Regions from separate parts of the Homo sapiens genome. Here all the other regions are linked to region 1. The links are contacts of gene promoters, found by promoter capture Hi-C in blood cells and fetal thymus (Javierre and others, 2016). All regions are on one chromosome and are shown on one strand. The core of a region is centred on a gene start or on the middle of the fragment in contact, and the rest is flanking DNA. Distances in the headings are between cores, read along the strand shown.

Region 1 (3,358 bases), core at 541-3,040:
GTTCTTTACTAGGAATTATGTTTAAAAGGGAATACTTTCTGCATAATCATTGCTTTTTCTACTGTATCCATTCTTACTGAGCCATGAGAGTAGGAGTCGAGCGGTTCCTCTCACAAGTTTTACACAGTAGGCTATGGGCTTTGCTCAGCCACCCGAAAACACACATGCCACAGAGCGGGAACCAGAAGAGCAGGCAGCACCCTGAGCACCCTCTCTGAAGCTCCACAAGCTAACAGTGACAGGAAGGGCACTCCACAAACATCTCAGCTCATTCCCTGCACTTTCTGGAAACACATCATGATCAAATGGCATAATGCCCCTTCATCCAGATCTTGCCATGAGTCTTAAACAGAGCAGAATTGAAAGTGAATGGCTTTTAGGATATACAGCCCTCAATTGCCTCCCCATACCTACCCCTAAAATTCATGACCGTTAGCAACAGCAAAGTTAGGCCCCCTGTGCCAGGCAACAGCCAGGGGAGGGAAATAAAGAGAAAAAACGAAGCAATTAGATGACGTGCCCAAGTAGAGGTGGGTTTTGCAGGGTTTGTTTGTTTTCAGGGATTTTTTTTGGTAGAATTGCCTTATTTAACTGTTAAATTACTACTTTATTATCGAGTTCAATTTTTGCTTTTTTCCCTCTTCTTCTTTTGTTCTGATTTTAAGATAGTCTCACTCTGTCACCCAGGCTGCAGTCTACAAACACGACTCACTGCAGCCTCAACCTCCTGGGATCAAGCGATCCTCCCACCTTTGCCACCTGTATAACTGGGACCACAGCCATGCACCACCACAACCAGCTAATTAAAATTCTTTTTTAGAGACAGGGGTATCGCTTTCTTGCCCAAGTTGGTCTTGAACTCATGGGCTCAAGTGATCCTCCCATCTAGGCCTCCCAAAGTGCTGGGATTACAGGCGTGAGCCACCATGCCCGGCCTCAGTTTTTTCCATCTACAGGTTGTAGTGCATCGGTGAATGATGAAATCATTTTGATAGGTCAGAACTGGGTTGTTTAAAAATGCAACAGGTGGGGGTGCATCACAGTTCAAAGGAGAAGTGTTGTTTCTCAGTTGTGTGTTGTTTGTACCCAGTTATGTTGTAAAGTGCACTGCTGACTGGGGGTCATGAGTAGAAATTTGAAAAACACTGGACTATAGTTTGCTCTATGATAGAGAAGGGTTTCTTTTAACACCTTCACTGTTTTTAACATATTTATTTTGACTGTATTCACTTGGTATTTGATTGCCTTAGCTAGATGAATCAGGGTAAATAGCCTTTTTCAGATATTTCCCTGCTCTTTCCACTATAAATTTCCTGAACTCATATAGCATGTTTAACCCATACATGTAATAGTAACGTCCTTCAGGGTATACACCATATGAGTAGGTCACATTTAATCTACATTCTAAACTATTGCTGAGCATCGTACTCCATCCTCTGCATCCAAACAGTTGCTCAATAAATACACAGCTTAGCATGGGGAATGAGCCCTCCGTAGCTTTCGAGTTACAAGAGCACCATCTTCTGGCGAAATATTTTCTTTGTAGGGAGAATGTCAAAGACCTACCAAAAATGTCCTGATTTTTCTAGCAAAAATTATAATTACATCACAAATACTTTGAAATTCTGTAGAGCTCCTTGCTTCATTCAGGAGTTTCGCTTCATTTCCCCTCTGAGAAGTGGTCTTTCTGTTCCTTAGCAGTGAAAGCAGTCAGCCTGTCCTTCCTGGTTTTCCGTTAAACTAAGCCGGTTTCAAGTTTCAGCTCCTCCTTGAATTCCAGGCTGCTGAGACTTCCCTCTAGAATCCTCCAACATGGAGCCTCTTGCAGCTTACCCGCTAAAATGTTCCGGGCCCAGAGCAAAGGTATTTGCAGTTTTGCTGTCTATAGTTCTATGCACAGTAACGCTATTTCTTCTACAACTAAAATTCCTCAAACCTAAAATCAACAGCTTTTATGCCTTTGAAGTGAAGGATGCAAAAGGAAGAACTGTTTCTCTGGAAAAGTATAAAGGCAAAGTAAGTTGCATCATCTGATTTTTATTGTTATCATTTTTCCTTGTCTCTGTTTATTCCTCTTAATAAAATCAATTTTTTGCTGTTACATGGTCATAAGTTGGAATTTAGTCTTCAGAGTAATGGTATTAGTACATCACTTTAGTTATTACAGTTCTGATAGTTTGCTTCTAAATAATAAATTCCGATTATCTCGTTTTCTTTAAAATGCTTTAATTTTGTGCTGAATTGACATGTAAAGTTGTTTGGAAAATACTTATAGTTAGTAATGTGAACATGATGACATTTATTAATAAAAGTATTGGTTCTATAATCTAATAACTTTAAAAAGAACTTATCAAGGATCATAGTTTTATCTTTAATTTAAAAATAAACTTTCATGAGTATCTAATGCTTTTTTAATGGCAGTACTATTTCAGGGCCTTAACCCAGGCATCTAGGTTACAGTTTTCAATAGAACTGTGTATGTCCAAAAATATGAAAAAAACATCAATCAGAGGTTATAGTCCCCCCCAAATTGTTTAGGATTTTAACTACTTGCAGAATTTTTTAAAATCTTTTGCTTCACTTTCCGGTTGGATTTTTTTCTTTTTCCGGGAGGTTTCACTAGTTGTAAACGTGGCCAGTGACTGCCAACTCACAGACAGAAATTACTTAGGGCTGAAGGAACTGCACAAAGAGTTTGGACCATCCCACTTCAGCGTGTTGGCTTTTCCCTGCAATCAGTTTGGAGAATCGGAGCCCCGCCCAAGCAAGGAAGTAGAATCTTTTGCAAGAAAAAACTACGGAGTAACTTTCCCCATCTTCCACAAGATTAAGATTCTAGGATCTGAAGGAGAACCTGCATTTAGATTTCTTGTTGGTAAATATCTGCCTTGCATATGCTGTTTTAAATTGCTTTTCATTTTTAAACAATTATACCAGGACAATACTTTCCTATTTCATTTGAAACGTTGTATCGGGAAAGCTTCATAAAACTATCATCAAAGAGCCAGAATCTCATCCTTTGTAACTTCTAGGAGTTATGCTCCCCTGAAATCAATGTTTTAGCTTCTTAGATGGTAAAAGAATTCTATTCCAATATATTTTATTCCTTATTACCATCTTCCTGAAGAATTTACTTAAAGTGTGCCCATGGCTATTTTCACAAAATATCTTAATTCTCCTCTCTTGTAACTAGCATCTGGAGAAATGTCCCTTCCCGTCATTATAGCCACACAGCTCTCATGAATAGTGCTGGGCATTATTAGTTAACATATGTTTGTGGCTAATTTTATGTTGTCTTTCTTATCTGAAACAATATTCTCAAAGATGAATATGTCAGCTTACCAGATTTTTGCTAAAA
Region 2 (3,358 bases), core at 640-3,139, 240 kb before region 1:
ATCACACTACCTGACTTCAAACTATACTACAAGGCTAGAGTAACCAAAACAGCATGGTACTGCTACAAAAGCAGATATATAGATGAAGGGAACAGAATGGAGGCCTCAAAAATAACACCACACAGCTACAACTGTCTGATCTTTGACAAATCTGATGCACACACAAGCAATGGGGAAATGATTCCCTATTTAATAAATGGTGTTGGGAAAACTGGCTAGTCATATGCGGAAAACTGAAACTGGACTCCTTCCTTACACCTTATACAAAAATCAACTCAAGATGGATCAAAGACCTAAACGTAAGACCTAGGACCATAAAAATCCTAGAAGATGACGTGGACAATACCATTCAGGACATAGGCATGAGCAAAGACTTTGTGTCTAAAACACCAAAACCTATGGCAACAAAAGCCAAAATAGACAAATGGGATCTAATTAAACTAAAGAGCTTCTGCACAGCAAAAGAAACTACCATCAGAGTGAACAGGCAACCTACAGAATGGGAGAAAATTTTTGCAATCTATCCATCTGACAAAGAGCTAATATCCAGAATCTACAAAGAACTTAAACAAATTTACAAGAAAAAATCAAACAACCCCATCAAAAAATGGGTAAAGGTTATGAACAGACATTTCTCAAAAGAAGACATTTATGCAGCCAACAGACATTTGAAAAAAAAGCTCATCATCGCTGGTCATTAGAGAAATGCAACTCAAAACCACAATGAGATACCATCTCACACCAGTTAGAATGGCAATCATTAAAAAGTCAGGAAACAACAGATGCTGGAGAGGTTGTGGAAAAATAGGAACGCTTTTACACTGTTGGTGGGAGTGTAAATTAGTTCAACCATTGTGGAAGACAGTGTGGTGATTCTTCAAGGATCTAGAACTAGAAATACCATTTGACCCAGCCATCCCATTACTGGGCATATACCCTAAGGATTATAAATCATTCTGTGATAAAGACACATGCACACATATGCTTATTTCAGCACTATTCACAATAGCAAAGACTTAGAACCAACCGAAATGTCCATCAATGATAGACTGGATTAAGAAAATGTGGCACATATACACCATGGAATACTATGCAGCCATTAAAAAAGGATGAGCTCATGTCCTTTGTAGGAACATGGATGAAGCTGGAAACCATCATTCTCAGCAAGCTATCAAAAGATCAGAAAACACCACATGTTCTCACTCATAAGTGGGAGTTGAACAGTGAGAACACACGGACACAGGGAGGGGGAACATCACACACCAGAGCCTGTGGCGTGGTCAGGGCCTATGGGAGGGATAACATTAGGAAAAATATCTAATGTAGGTGACTGGCTGCTGGGTGCAGCAAACCACCAAGGCACATGTATACCTATGTAACAAAACTGCATGTTCTGCACATGTAACCCAGAACCTTAAAGTATAATAATAATAAAAAAGAATAATGTGTATTATGCCATTGCTGGGTAGAGTGTTCTACAGATGTCAGGTCTAGTTGCTTTATAGTGTTGTTCAAATCTTCTAATTTTTGTTGATCTTTCTACTTTGGATAAACCATTATTGAAAGTAGGGTACTGTCAGCTCTGGGCAATAAGTTTCTGCAAAATAAATAAATAAAAAAATAGGGTTCTGAAGTCTTCAACTGTTATGGTTGAACTGTCTATTTCTTTTCTCAAGTGTGTCAGTTTTTGCTTCATGTATTTTGGGGCTCTGTTGCTAGGTGCATATATATTTGTAATTGTTATATTTTCTTAATAGATTGACCTCTCTTTGTCTCTAGTAACAATTTTTATTTTAAAGTCAATTTTGTCTGATATTGGTAAAGCCACTTGTCTCTTTTGGTTACTGTTTGTATCATTTATCTTTTGTCATCTTTTTACTTTTAACATATTTGTGTCTTTGAATCCAAAATAAGTGTCTTTTGGGCAGCATAAAATATGTATTTTTCTTAAAATTCATTTATTTCTGACTTTTAATTGAAGAGTTTAACCCATTTACATTTAATGTAGCTACTGATAAAGTAGGATTTATGCCTGCCATTTTGCTATTTGTTTTCTATATGCCTTAATCTTTGTTCCTCTCTTCATTACTGCTTTCTTTTGTGTTAAATAGATGTTTTCTTGTGGTGTACAATTTTAATTCAATTATGATTTCCTTTTTCTTTTCTTTTTTTTCTTTTCTTTTTCCTGAGACAGGGTCTTGCTCTGTCACTCAAGCTGGAGTGCAGTGGCACAATCACAGCTTACTGCAGCCTCGAACTCCTGATCTCAATTGATCCTCCCACCTCAGTCTCCTGAGTAGCTGGGAATACAGGTGTATGCCATCACAGCCGGCTAATTTTTTGTATTTTTTGTAGAGACAGGGTTTCACCATGTCGCCCATGCTGGTCTCAAACTCCGGGCCTCAAGTGATCTGCCCGCCTTGGCCTCCTAAAGTGCTGGAATTGTTATTTCTTTTACTATATATATTTTAGTTGTTTTCTTAGTGGTTGCCTATGAATTAACATTAATATCTTAATTTATAACAACCTTGTCCAAACACTCAGTTTCAATAGTATACAAGAAATTTGCTTCTATCTCTATGTCCCCCTCCTCCTTTATGCTGTTATTGTTACAGATTACATTTTCATACATTGTGTGCCCATCAACATAAATTTATAATTATTGCATTATGTAGTTGTCTTTTAAATCAGATGGAGGAAAATGAGTTACATGCAAAATATACATTTATACTATCTTTTACATTTACCTCTGTAGTTACCTTTATTGGTGCTCTTCATTATCTCAGGTAGATTTGAGTTATGTGAAGTGTCTTTTTATTTTGAATGACTATTTTTAGATTTCTTGTAGAGCAGGTCTGCTATAAACTACCTCTCTCAGTTTTTATCTGAGAATATCTTAGCTTTTTTTTATTTTTGAAGGATAGTTTGCAGAAGATAAAATTCTTGGTTGACAGTTCCTTCCTCCCTTCCTTCCTTCCTTTCTTCCTTCCTTCCTTCCTTCATCCCTTTCTTTCTTTCTTTCAGAACTTTTTAGTATCATCGTCTTGCCTTCTGTCCTCCCTGGTCTTTTGTAAGAAAGTCACTGCTAATCTTATCAAAGATTCCTGCACAATGTCTTAGCTCAAGCCACTGTAACAAAATACCATTGAGTAAGTGGCTTAAGCAGAACACATCTATTTCTCACAGTTCTGGAAGCTGAGAAGTCTGAGATCAGAGTGCCAGCATGACCAGAGTTTGGTGAGGGCTTTTTTTTTTTTTTTTTTTTTTGCTTGCAGGTGGCCAGCTTCCTGCTGTATTCTCATATGGTGGATAGCGGAAGCTCCAGTGTCTCTTCCTCTTCTCATAACAGCACTAATTC
Region 3 (3,358 bases), core at 222-2,721, 200 kb before region 1:
AGAGGATTCCTAGACTAAGCTGGTAAAAAGAAGAAAAAAAGGTGAAAGTCTACCTGGCCATTGAAAGGGGGATATCCTGGGTTCAATCCTTGTGCCTGACACAGAGAAATACCTCAGAGATAGTGTCTGGAATCGAGGGAGAGAGGCTCTGTCCATGTATGTGAACTACAGCCCTGTGGCCAGAATAAGGCTTTGTGGCTCAGAAACTGAGTCTGTAGGCTGTGACACTGGACATGTAGGGCCACATTTGGAGCCCTGAGAAGCAGCTCAGGTGCTAAGAGGCACATGAGGGCCTGGAAGAAATAGGATTTTATGAATCATGGACACCCCCTGAAAGTCACATTTAGTATAATTTACTATCCAAACACATGGCCAGGCCTGGGGAAATATTTGTTCTTACCTCTCAGTTATAAAAACCTCAAATACAGAGCTGAGAACTCCAAGGGATAAAACCAGGATATGTAGACATGCTTTCACTGAAAGGGTTCATGTGTGATTTCAGCAGGATAAGCACAAAGCTTACACTGACTACTGCACTCCAAAAAAAAGGATGCATTCCGTGTAAGAAGAGAATTCCCTGGACTAACGTTCCCACTTAGCCTTCACCATTGGAGATCTGCAATCTCCCTGATATCCTCCTAGATCTGAGGATGGAAGGAAATGAGACAAACCCAAATGACACCATTGTATTCTCTGGTGTCTGTTCTTTAAATGGCATGTCACAGGTTTCAAGAATCCATGGAGGTTGCGATTCGTCTTTGTGTAGTGCAAAGATGTGTGGATGAAAAGATGGCTCTGCTCTGCCTCTCATTGCCACTATTAGCAACAGCCAGTCTCTAGCTCTGATCATTGAGCACTAGCTAATTCGGAAGCATGCCCTGGTACTGTGAAAGTTAGCCTTCTGCAGAAGAGGCAGGTTGGTTTTCAGATCTTGCCAAAGGAAGGTTGGATATGGGGTCTCTTAATAGAGTCTTTGGGTCTTGCAATATGCTTACAGTTAGGGGTTTCTACTGAAGGGTGTATGGGGAAAAACTCTCTTTCTAACTGCATTTTCCCTCTACTCTGACACCACCACAACAACAATCATCAACACAGAAGACTTCCCAACACAGAATGTGTGGAGTTTTTCCCTACACACCAAGCAGCAGACTCCAGCTGGGTGTCCTCCAATTCAGTTCTGATGCTACCTACCCAGAGATAGTGTCAGATCTGGCCTGTTGGGGGCTCAGTCCCCAACATTGCTCCCCACACCCCCCAGACACCAGTCGCAAGTCTGGGCCTCTGAAACTTCTGACAAACTGGCTTCAAGTTGAGGTTCCCAAAACTCCTTCTTGGAGTTCGATTAATTGGCTGAAAGGATTCACAGAACTCAAGGAAATAATTACTTACACTTACCACTTTATTATAAAGGGGATTACAAGGGATACAGATGAAGACACATGTAGGGCAAGGTATGGGGAAAGGGGTATGGAGCCTACCTGGTGCCCTGGGTTCAAGAACCTCCACATGTTCAGCTATCTGGAAGCTCACTGAACCCTGGTCCTCTTGGGTTTTTAAGAAGGCTTCATGACATCAGCATTCCTTCCCCTGAGGTATAAGGAAGGACCCTCTCTTGGGAGGGGCTTAAGGCCCACAATCAGAAAGGCAGGGAACATTAGAGTCCTGCCTTAGGCAAGGTGAAAGGAGGGCAGGAGAAGGTCCAGGGCTGCCCCTGAGACCTCACACACCTAACAGTGTAACGAAAGACTGGAACAAGGGCTATGGGAGTAATGAGCCAGGAACTGTGGCTGTAAACCAATATGTGTGTGTGTGTGTGTATGTGTGTGTGTGTGTAAGGAAGGGAGTGAAACTCAAGGAAGAAAAGCCTGATCACATCTGCTGGCTCTTGATTAAGTGGAAGGGAGTGAGTTCTGGAAACTTCTTCAATCACCTATCATTGCTCTTAGCCAATCATAGACCACACTTGTGAAATCTAAGTTGAGGAAAAACCCACAGAAGGGAAACATTCCTATATAAAATTTTTTCCCTGATGTTTAAACTACCTTAAAACTAAATTCCATAGTGTTTAAGCCACCTTAAAACTAAAAATTAAATGAATATTTATTGAGTCTCTACTATATGCCAAGTACTGTGCCACTTCCTAGAGACAAGCAGTCAACAAAAACAGATGCAGTTTCTATCTTCCTGGAGCTAATGCTCTTATGAGAAGACCTAGTGCGTGAGCAATTGATAAATAATAGCATCTCTCATAGATGCCTGCAGAAAAGCAACGTGGTGCTTGGAGAGCATAACAGAGAGGGGTTTAGCTGAGTCCCAGAGACCATGGAACAGTTCCTTTAAAAATGAAGAACTGAACTGAAATTTAAAGAATGGCTAAGAGTGAACTCAGCAATGGATCAGGGTCAGGATAATATAAGCAAAAGAACAAGCTTCACTAAAGCCAGTGAGATCAGAGAGAGCTAGACAAGTGTAGTGGGAAATAACTTGGATCAGTGACTCAAAACCTAAAAATGTATCAATGCTGGGGCTTCAGGCACTGTGATAGACAGAGGGAGAAATTTTAAGGACAGGTGACGATTGTGTTGTCCTCAAATTGTGCTACATGTGAAGCCAACTACATGATATGCTCATGAGTCCACCCCACCCCGCAAGTCCTCCCTGGACTCAGCCTTTCAATCAGAATAATGAGATGATCACTGTAGCTCAGAGGAACGAAGTATAATTCAAGACCTACATGATAGAATAATAGAGTTTTGTAACTGAAGGGGTCCTCTGAGGTCAATTAACCACGCCCCTCATTTTACAGATAACCAAAGTGAGGCCCAAAAAGATTGAGCTGCTTGCCCAATGTCACACCCCTAGTTAGTCGTGCAACACAGACCAGATTTCTGCCTCTTAGTAACTATGTATTTCTTCCTCCTAAGGTCAGGTGCCACAATGTACTTCCCAGCACTCACCTATTTGGATACATCCATGCCAGCTGTGATAGGCATGTTTTCACACATTTGCCCCACCCATACCCCCTTATGGTCGACTTTTCCTCCTGGCTATAGCCCTTCTTGTCCTAAATTTATTTGGTACCATGTGAACTGTGCCCTACCTCATACCCGGGTACAGCTGATTGTGTCACAGTGGGAGCTCTGGAATTAACAGGTATTGTCTCTGCCATGCTTCATTCTATCACTCTTTCCATGTTTCTTTGGAATCTAAACTCTTCTTTCCCATGGACAATTCTTCATCCCCACTCCCAGTCCTGGCCTAGTCACTCAGACTATCCCACCAGAGTACTTTCTAGGACTTTTCTGCTGTAGCTATTGAGAAAGTTCTACAGTCACCAGAGTAGACCCACTTTCTCCTG
Region 4 (3,358 bases), core at 443-2,942, 170 kb before region 1:
ATGCTTTCCCGTCATCAATTTCCTCAACCCAGCAGCAGCGCTGTCCTCCTGCCAGGCTCTCTTGTTTTGGTTTATGAAATCCAGGATGAAGGCTGGATTAACACGCTGCTGCCATCCAGGAATTGAAAAGCCCAAGCTGATGTCATCTGTTATGTTTAGATGGTTGTTTTGCATGAGGACTGAAAAACTCACTCACATCCGTCTCAAGGGCTCAAGGACGTCTGTGAAGGAGGGATAAAGAAGGTTGCACACCCTCCTTCAGGACGGGAATTGTTCTGACCCTGGCATATCACTTGAGGTGTAGCTTTGTCTCAGAGCCTCTGTAGTCAGGAGGAAAATGATATCAACATGAATCATCAGGACCGAAGAAGCTTCTTCAAAAAAAATAATAAACATTTGGTATTTCCCCTCAACAAATAGCTATGAGATCATTTGAAAGAAGAAAGGGTTATATTGTGTCTTTTCAATACTTAGAAGAAAGAAAATATTTTGATAGGGCTATTTTTTAAGACCCTCTCTTCCTTCCTCTCACCCCTCTCCTCAAATGTTATTTCTAAAGCAATTCATGTTACATATATCTAAGCCTATTGTGGATATAGCTGTGCTTCCAGTACAATGTGGAACTGCCTCTGAGAATTTCTTTTAAAATCAATACAAAAAGCCACAAGAGAGGTAAGATCCTTTCGGCACTGCTTCTGGGTTACTCAATTCTGGAAAAACTTATCAGTTGGACTTCTGATCCAAAACTTCCTCAGGGGAAGGCTCATCCATCACTAAGTCTGCTTGTCCAATGACGGAGTCCACCCAGAGCCCTTCCCCTCACCTCCTGGCATCTATCAGAGCCCTCACTAAAAACTGCCAAGCGCGGCAGCCAGCCCAAGGCAACAAGTGGCTCAGCAGGAAAATCAGAACACAGCCCCCAAGAAACAAGTCACAGGGAAGGGAAACATTACCCCTCAGGAAACAAGGTCTGCATGCTAAGAGGGTTACCGTGCCTAGGTCCCTCTGGGAAAACAGAGTAGCCCTCTTAAAATATCAACTGTGCCAGGGTCTTATTAAGTAAGGTTAAAGAGGAGAGAGGGGAGTTCTTACACCAACCACATGCCGAATTCCATGCCCCCACCTCACTTGTCAAAAGAGATATAGACTCACTGTCACTTAGTAAATAACAACCCAGTAAAGTGGGTAATTCTTGGTCTGTCACAAATGAGCTGTAAGAAATTCACAGGACTTCTCTTGGCCTCAGCTTCCTCTTTTGAGAATTGATGGTGTTAGGCTACCTGACCTCTAAAATTCTTGTTTCCCATAGAAGATGAGGCAGAGCGGGCATTGGATGTAACTTGAAGATCGGCTTTTGCAAATGCAATTTTAGGGGGACACAGGGAGTAAATTCAGAATACAGAGAATTGAGGCAGTAGGAAATGAAAGCAAGAGTTTTAGCTTTCAAATTTTCCAAATTTTTCATGACAATCCAATTTGAAATACTCTATCTCCCCAGAAGCACTTACTTAGCAGGTGGCACACTCTGATGTTTTCAGTAATGGGTAATATTTGTTGAGTTAATAGCTTAAACACTTTACATGCATTAACTCATTTGCACCTCATCACAATATTATGAAGTGGCTGCTATTATCATGCTTATTTTTTAAAAGAAGAAACTGAGTAAGAAAGAGGTTAATTTGCCTAAGGTCCCTATATTGAAGGGATGGATGTTAGTCTAATGTCAGAGCCACATATTCTATTGCCTATTACAATACATAATTGTGCTTTCATGGCCAATAGTTCCAATGGCCTAGGTCGCAATTTAGGCTGACCCTAGAAAATGTCCCTTGTTACTGAACACCACTTTCTGAGGAGTAGTTAACTGGAATAGTGGTTAATAATAATATCTAACCTTTACAGAGATCTGACTGTGTGCCAGATGCCATGCTAAGCAGTTTATGTAGATTACCACATTTAACTTTCAAAACAACCTCAAGAGCTAGGTGCTATTCTTATCCCCATCTTAGATATGAGAAAACTGAGGCCTAGAGAGGGTAAGTAACTTGTCCATCATCACACAGTTAGCAAATGGTGAAGCCAGGACTCCAGCCCTGAGACCAACAAGCTCTGGAGACTGGATTAAGGATTGTAAAATCAAATACATACAGGTGCCAAACAGGTGCCCAAGGTGGGTGACATGGTAAGCTATACTAGATGTAATACAGAAGGAATGGAGTGGATTTCGTCCTCCTGAATAGCACATAAAGACATGAAACTCTTCCACTATGGAAGATAAAGGGAAACCAAATTGATAATACCTTCAGTAAATGACAACTAAACAAATGTAAGTTGAGAGTACCAAATCCAAATAGTAAACCAAACTACAATGCACAGGTAAGTGCAGAAAATATGCCCAATAGAGTTCACCAGTGGTGGAACTATCTCAATACACAGTGCCTAACAACTCATTTTAGGGGAACCTTCAATCCCTCCAAGACCCAACAAAAACCATTTGTCCCAACACAATCCCTGTAAGATTTTTATCTAGTGATTTCTGTCTTCCCCAGAGCCTTGAGCCCAGATCAATGAATTCCATTAGGAAAGTTAGCAATGACCACAAAGGGTTAGGAAATGGGAGCACGAGCAACCAAGGAGCCAACTCTAAGCTGCATTAAAAAGCAATAAGATGATGGCAGAGCTGTTGATAGTGAGTGCATGAGGTCCACCCATTTCACTTGCTTTGTGCTGGGGACTGGAACATCTCTCATCTTGCTCTGCCTGTATATCAGTTGTCAAGTCAGAGTGAGAAAGGGCAAGAGGAATTGCACAAGATTTTCACAACTCCTAAAATGTAAGTTCAAACTAAGGTGGGTCAAACCATACCATCTGTGGATCCAAATGTTGCAGCATATGGTGTTTTGCAATGGGGGCAGAGAAATGATAAAACCAAATATCTATTTAACCCAGTATACCCTGTATACTTAAAATGCCACTTTGATTTTTTTCTTAAAGCTGGTATTGTGTTAGGAAAATAAGCTTTGGTAATGTGCATTAATATTTTGTGTTTATTTTGTACATTATGATTGCTTCTAACCAAATAACAAGGATTTTTTTCTGGATAGGTAAAAGTAGTCCAGTGGAAAGGCTCTGGGCAGATCCCAGACTCTCAGAAGGTGGTTTATGGTAAAGCGAATTATACCGTACTTACTGTGCCTTCCTAACAAACCAGCTCTACCAGAGAAGTCTGGTTTAAATTGAATTACAAAGGCAGACTTGAGGGCATAAAGTTTGGAGGAGCAAGTGGAGACATTTACATGCAGATTTTAGGTGATTTGGTTTTTAGGTTAGTTTTGGTTGTGGTTTTTGATACCATCTG

What was found. The method cuts DNA at HindIII sites, captures the fragments that hold promoters and counts their contacts. A CHiCAGO score of 5 or more calls a contact.
Region 2: a contact is called between a fragment that was not itself captured here and the fragment with the promoter of GPX8 in region 1, in 5 of 17 cell types (non-activated CD4 T cells, activated CD4 T cells, naive CD4 T cells and 2 more). The highest score is 7.4, in non-activated CD4 T cells.
Region 3: a fragment that was not itself captured here is called in contact with the fragment with the promoter of GPX8 in region 1 in 3 of 17 cell types (activated CD4 T cells, naive CD4 T cells and non-activated CD4 T cells); the score reaches 7.9 in activated CD4 T cells.
Region 4: a fragment that was not itself captured here is called in contact with the fragment with the promoter of GPX8 in region 1 in 1 of 17 cell types (endothelial precursors); the score reaches 5.2 in endothelial precursors.

What each region holds. Positions count from the first base shown.
Region 1 is chr5:55,158,381-55,161,738 of GRCh38, forward strand. GPX8 (glutathione peroxidase 8 (putative)) reads left to right here and starts at 1,791. Exons shown (of 3, transcript NM_001008397.4): 1 at 1,791-2,016; 2 at 2,614-2,875. The coding sequence starts at 1,813. The region is part of intron 2 of CDC20B (cell division cycle 20B); the gene reads right to left. The HindIII fragment of the contact is 5,226 bases long and covers 1-2,978 here.
Region 2 is chr5:54,922,681-54,926,038 of GRCh38, forward strand. No RefSeq gene overlaps it. Among named protein-coding and RNA genes, the nearest start is that of ESM1, 61 kb to the right of the region's middle. The HindIII fragment of the contact is 5,645 bases long and covers 1-3,358 here.
Region 3 is chr5:54,961,001-54,964,358 of GRCh38, forward strand. No RefSeq gene overlaps it. Among named protein-coding and RNA genes, the nearest start is that of ESM1, 23 kb to the right of the region's middle. The HindIII fragment of the contact is 1,911 bases long and covers 517-2,427 here.
Region 4 is chr5:54,985,641-54,988,998 of GRCh38, forward strand. No RefSeq gene overlaps it. Among named protein-coding and RNA genes, the nearest start is that of ESM1, 1.7 kb to the left of the region's middle. The HindIII fragment of the contact is 2,647 bases long and covers 370-3,016 here.